2 separate regions of the Homo sapiens genome follow, and region 2 is linked to region 1. Evidence: promoter capture Hi-C in human tissues and cell types (Jung and others, 2019). All regions are on one chromosome and are shown on one strand. The core of a region is centred on a gene start or on the middle of the fragment in contact, and the rest is flanking DNA. Distances in the headings are between cores, read along the strand shown. Region 1 holds the start of DCXR (dicarbonyl and L-xylulose reductase). Region 2 has its middle 8.2 kb from the start of ARHGDIA.

Region 1 (2,601 bases), core at 1-2,500:
CAGCCTCCCACAAGAAGCTGGTGGAGCAGAGTGTTCCCTGACGCCTCCAAGGAAAGGAGACTCCCCTTCGCAGTCTTCTAAGTAACGGGTGGCTTCCCAGACAACGGCATTACTGCTTGACCAAGGAGCCCTCAAGCAGCCCTTATGCGGGAGTGACAGAGGGCTCACCTCTTGCCTTCTAGGTCACTTCTCACAATGTCCCTAGGTTATATTAGTAATGCAACAAAGAGTAATATTAAAAGCTAATGATTAATAATGTTTATACTAATGATTGATAATTATCCATGATCATGATCATTTTTATATCTAATTTGTATTATGACTATTTTTATTTTAACTGTTTTTTTTTTAAAGATGGAGTCTTGCTCTGTCGCCCAGGCTGGAGTGCAGTGGCGCAATCTCGGCTCACTGCAAGCTCCGCCTCCTGGGTTCGCGCCATTCTCCTGCCTCAGCCTCCTGAGTAGCTGGGACTACAGGTGCCCGCCACCGCGCCCGGCTAATTTTTTGTATTTTTAGTAGAGATGGGGTTTCACCGTGTTAGCCAGGATGGTCTCGATCTCCTGACCTCGTGATCCACCCGCCTCGGCCTCCCAAAGTGCTGGGATTACAGGCGTGAGCCACCGCTCCCGGCCTATTTTCTTTGTTATACTGAAACAGTTTGTGTCTTCAGTCTCTTGCCTTGGCATCTAGGTAATCCTTCGCCCACAGATGAAAGCGGAGCTCTGCTGACATTGGTGTCTTCTCCAGACGTAGTTGGTTGTCCAAATTCTTTCCCTTGGCTTTAAAGTGAGCCGGCGGTGTCCTGCTCCCAAGCCTGAGAGATGATGGGCACAGGCGACACTTTTTAGGACATGCCGATGTTTTCAGAAACAAAACAAGAAATGTTAGCCCTGAAATTCTCCATTTCACGTGTTCTTCCTGATATTAACCACACATTCTTTCCGATATTAACCACCACATCGTCTTTTTGCAATAATCTTGGCAGGGAAAAATATGCTAGCCAGGGTCCACTACGTCGATTTCAAGCACGGAAGATGGGTCACACCAGGCACTTCAAAAGACCCGTCCCTGAGGCAGCGGAGACCCCGCCCCGCCCCGGCGCGCCCACTCCTTTCGGCCAATCACTGCAGCGGGGAGCAGCTATTTGAATGTCCCCACCGCCTATCTGAAGGCCGCCCTGCCATTGGCCCCGCCGCGCCCCGCCCATCGTGGCCAGAGCTTCAAGTTCCGCAGCCCCAGTGCGGAGGGCGGAGACTGCGCCGACATGGAGCTGTTCCTCGCGGGCCGCCGGGTGCTGGTCACCGGGGCAGGCAAAGGTGGGCGGCGGGGAAAGGTGGGCAAAGGCCGGCGGCGGGCAGAGGCGGGCAGGGGACGCCTTCACTGAGCCCGCTCCCGGCAGGTATAGGGCGCGGCACGGTCCAGGCGCTGCACGCGACGGGCGCGCGGGTGGTGGCTGTGAGCCGGACTCAGGCGGATCTTGACAGCCTTGTCCGCGAGGTAGGTCCCGCCGGGTCCCAGCGCTGCGAGGCGGCGAGCCAGGAGGGGGCGGCAGCGAGCGGGGGCGGTACCTCTGTGCGCGACTCCGCCTCCCCTCGCGGGCGCTGCGCTTCTCACCGCGGCCTGGGCGCCCGCGCACCCTCTCTCGGGGCTGGTGGCCTGCGTGGGCGGCCGGGTGGTCGGCAGAGCCGCCGGGGCCCCCGGGCTCAGAAAGAGGCCGAAATGGCTGCGAAGCAGGCCCCGGGCAGGAGTCGCTCGGGCGCAGGGAGGAAGTGAACCGGCCGGAGGTAGCGCCCGGCTGCTGGCCCCACAGTCCCGACACCTTCGGAACTCCTAACTCCTTTACTTGTCCGGCTGAAAGGTCACCAGCCCCAGTCCCCAGCTGTGCCGCTTGCTGGGCACAGAGCCTCTGGTAACTGCCCCCTGATACACACAGTGCCCGGGGATAGAACCCGTGTGCGTGGACCTGGGTGACTGGGAGGCCACCGAGCGGGCGCTGGGCAGCGTGGGCCCCGTGGACCTGCTGGTGAACAACGCCGCTGTCGCCCTGCTGCAGCCCTTCCTGGAGGTCACCAAGGAGGCCTTTGACAGGTGAGCCTGTGAGGGCGGAGGAACCTCAGGGAGGGGCTGTCCTGGAGGACGCAGCAGCCCTAATCTCTGACCAGGGTCTGTCCCTCGGCCTCTAGATCCTTTGAGGTGAACCTGCGTGCGGTCATCCAGGTGTCGCAGGTGAGCTGCCCTGTGGGCTGGACGGGAATTCTCGTGAGTGATGCCAGCTCTGCCTCACGGTCTCGCTGCGATTCCAGATTGTGGCCAGGGGCTTAATAGCCCGGGGAGTCCCAGGGGCCATCGTGAATGTCTCCAGCCAGTGCTCCCAGCGGGCAGTAACTAACCATAGCGTCTACTGTGAGTGCCCCAGCTGTGCCCTCAGCCCCACCCCAGCCCCAGCCTCGCCCTCATCACCGACCCCAGCCCCAGCCAGCTTGGGTTCCTCTTCGTAGGCTCCACCAAGGGTGCCCTGGACATGCTGACCAAGGTGATGGCCCTAGAGCTCGGGCCCCACAAGGTGAGCAGGGCTGGGGTACCTCCCCCAACCTAGGACAC
Region 2 (3,398 bases), core at 327-2,826, 160 kb after region 1:
CCAAAGTGTTGGAATTACAGGCCTGAGCCACCACACCGAACATAGCCTATTAATGTCAGCCTATTTCTCTATTTATGAATTTTCTGAAGTGTTATTTTTATATTCAGATTTATAGAAGCTTTTGTCTTTTATGACCTTGACACTTTTAAAGGGTACTCTCAGCTATTTTGTAGAATGTCCCTCACACTGGGGACTCTGACCTTATGACTGGACAAGGTTTTGTTTTTTGTTTTTTTTTTTTTTTTTGAGACGGAGTCTTTCTCTGTCTTCTAAGCTGGAGTGCGGTGGTGTGATCTCAGCTCACTGCAATCTCTGCCTCCCAGGTTCAAGCGATTCTCCTTCCTCAGCCTCCTGAGTAGCTGGGATTTTAGGCACCCGCCACCACACCCGGCTAATTATTGTATTTTTATTAGAGACAAGGTTTCACCATGCTGGCCAGGCTGGTCTTGAACTCCTGACCTCATGATCCATCCGCCTTGGCCTCCCAAAAGTGCTGGGATTACAGGCCTGAGCCACCACGCCCTGCTGGTTTATTTTATTTTTTGGCATGAATACCACAGCTGGGATGTCATCTTCTCAATGCATAGTGGAGATATGCAATGTCAGTCTGTCCAACTCCTGGTCCTGTTAGTTCAGGTGGTGGCAGCGGCTGCCGGGGCTTCTCCCCTACATAGTTACTGTTTTCCCTTTGTCATCCATAAATACCTTGGGGAGATACTTCCAGACTAAGTGAATGTCTGTTTCACTTCCAAGTTTTACCCACTTTTTTTTTTTTTTTTGAGATGGAGTCTCACTTTTGCCGAGGCTGTAGTGCAATGGCGCCATCTCAGCTCACTGCAACCTCCGCCTCCCAGGTTCAAGCAATTCCCCCGTCTCAGCCTCCCAAGTAGCTGGGATTACAGGCACGCGCCACCATGCCCAGGTAATTTTTTTTATTTTTAGTAGAGACGGGGTTTCACCGTGTTGCCCAGGCTGGTCTCCAACTCCTGAGCTCAGGCAGTCCACCTGCCTCAGCCTCCCAAGGTGCTAGGATTACAGGCGTGAGCCACCGTGCCCGGCCTACCCACTAATTAATTTCAGCATCCACTGGTGGGTCTTGCAATGCAGTAATTATTAACTTAGTTTTCAAAGGTGATTTTTGCATTTTCCTCATTCCTTTGACGTTTATTAATTGGAATTCATCTCTAAGAAAGAGCAGTCCCTTCAGCTTTTTTCCCTTTTTTTTTTTTGAGACAGGGTCTTGCTCTGCGGCTCAGGCTGCAGTGCAGTGGCTCGATCACGGCTCACTGCAGCCTCGACCTCCCGGGCTCACGTGATCTCCCATCTCAGCCTCCTGAGTAACCAGAACCACAGGTGCTCACCACCATGCCCAGCTGACTTTTTGTATTTTTTGTAGAGATGGGGTTTACCCATGTTGCTCAGGCTGGTCTCAAATTTTCGAGCTCAAGTGATCCGCCCGCCTTGGCCTCCCAAAAGGCATGAGCCACTGCGCCTGACCTACGATTTCTTTCTTTATATATCAGTATGAACGCAAGGGCTGTTTGTTGGATTCTGTGAGTCATAATCTGATACTGTTTCCACGCTTTGGCCATTGGGAGCTCCTGGAGATTGTCTCCTGTGCCCTATCCTTATTTAAGCACTTGTTTATTTTGGGATGTCTTCAGTTTTCCTTGTCCCAGCTCTGCACCCAGCTGCTTCTCCAGGGAGCCCTCCCTCACTGGAGACTGGGATTTAGCAACCAAGACCTGGGCACTGGCTGTGCTTGTTGCTTCTGGGCCCTCCTGGGACAGAGCTGGGAAGTGGATCTATGACACGTGCTTGTGCATTTACCCGCCCTGTTGGTTTCTGTAGCTGTCTAGTTCCTGCTGTTCCTGTCTCACCTGCCCCTTTCCTTATGTGTAGTTTCTTCCTGTGACAGGGAGAAACCTGGCTCTCAGATTGACAGGACATTCGCTTAGGCCATGTCAGTGCTGTAGGTGAACTGTTCAACCTGTGCCCCAGGGAGGCGCAGTCACTATGGAGGCACCTTACTTCCTTAATCGTGTACTGTTGTTTTTGTGTTTGACCTGTAGCATCTAAGTACTGGTTTCAAAAGTTGCCTAGATGAGTTCTTTTCTTTCTTTCCACCTCCTGCAAATTATGTGATTTGCATAATTTGTACATAGTTAGGTTCATTTGTTAGTTTGTATTCCTTTTGGCTTCCCCCATATCCTCGTTGACTTTTTCTTTCTTTTGTAACTTACATATGTTATGAAATTTATATGAGGATATATAATTTTCATAAATGTTTATGGTTTACATGTATTAGTTGTTATTATTAAGATCACCCTGGGATTGACTGGCCAAGCATTTGGTGGAAGATAGCAATAAATAATACATCATAAAAGACTTTAATGTAAAAATAAAGCCATGAAAGTACCAAGAAATAAATCTTCTCATTTTAATTACATCAGCTTGTCTGTGATCATGTAGCCTAAGGTAGGCCAGAGTTAATTTTTGTGTTATCTATACACGTTATTGAAGCGAATTATAAAATGTTTTAGCATGTTAATTACTTGTAAATTAATATCTACATATAAAAATGTGAGCATATATTCTATTTAGTATATTAATCCTTCATAAACAAGTAATGCAAGTTAGTATTAATGATATCTTAAGACTTAACATTCCTTTTTTAGTTTGTGTTGAATAAATGAACATCTAAGAGTTCATGATGATGCTTAAGGAAAGAAGCCTCATGTTTACCTTTGGAAGTTGTAAGGCACTGACTCATAAAAATTGGCAAATAAAAGGAAAGAATCGGGCATTTAATTTGTCTTTTCTGTATGAACTCTATAATTTTGGGGCAACAATTGATGACGGGGTCCTTTAAAAAAAAAAGAAATAATTCCAGCTAAGAAATACAGAAATAATTAGAAAATCAGGCCAGGCACGGTGGCTCATGCCTGTAACTCCAGCACTTTGGGAGGCCGAGGCATGAGAATCACTTGAACTCAGGAGGTGGAGGTTGCAGTGAGCCGAGAGTGCGCCACTGCACTCCAGCCTGGGCAAAAGAGCAAGACTCTCTCAAAAAAAAAAAAAAAAAACACACCCAAAATTAGAAAATCACCACTTTGAAGTGTCCAATAAAATGATGCATGTGAGAAACAGTGAAAATTGAAGATGACAGTTGAGGAGGCCACTGATAATGGGTGGACCAGCCCAGCTTCCCAGAACCAACCATACCTCACTACAGGTAGGACCAGAAGACAAGTCCAATGACGTGAAGCAGCAGGAGGCCCCCAGCACCGCCTCTAAAACTCGAACTGGGCTCATCCTGCCTAAGAAGTGCAGAGGATGGGAGAGGGTTCACAGGACACCTGGAGGGTTCAGCCCAGCAAATCCAGAACACAGGACAT

Evidence for each region. The method cuts DNA at HindIII sites, captures the fragments that hold promoters and counts their contacts. A contact is called where the count stands out against the background at its distance.
Region 2: a fragment that was not itself captured here is called in contact with the fragment with the promoter of DCXR in region 1 in 1 of the 25 tissues and cell types used here (spleen).

Annotation. Positions count from the first base shown.
Region 1 is chr17:82,036,346-82,038,946 of GRCh38, reverse strand. DCXR (dicarbonyl and L-xylulose reductase) reads left to right here and starts at 1,250. Exons shown (of 8, transcript NM_016286.4): 1 at 1,250-1,316; 2 at 1,400-1,497; 3 at 1,934-2,088; 4 at 2,184-2,226; 5 at 2,304-2,403; 6 at 2,499-2,563. The coding sequence starts at 1,265. It overlaps DCXR-DT (DCXR divergent transcript), which reads right to left and starts at 1,029. Exons shown (of 2, transcript NR_159948.1): 1 at 679-1,029. RefSeq lists a silencer at 1,030-1,859. The HindIII fragment of the contact is 8,854 bases long and covers 1-2,601 here.
Region 2 is chr17:81,877,836-81,881,233 of GRCh38, reverse strand. No RefSeq gene overlaps it. Among named protein-coding and RNA genes, the nearest start is that of ARHGDIA, 8.2 kb to the right of the region's middle. The HindIII fragment of the contact is 8,262 bases long and covers 1-3,398 here.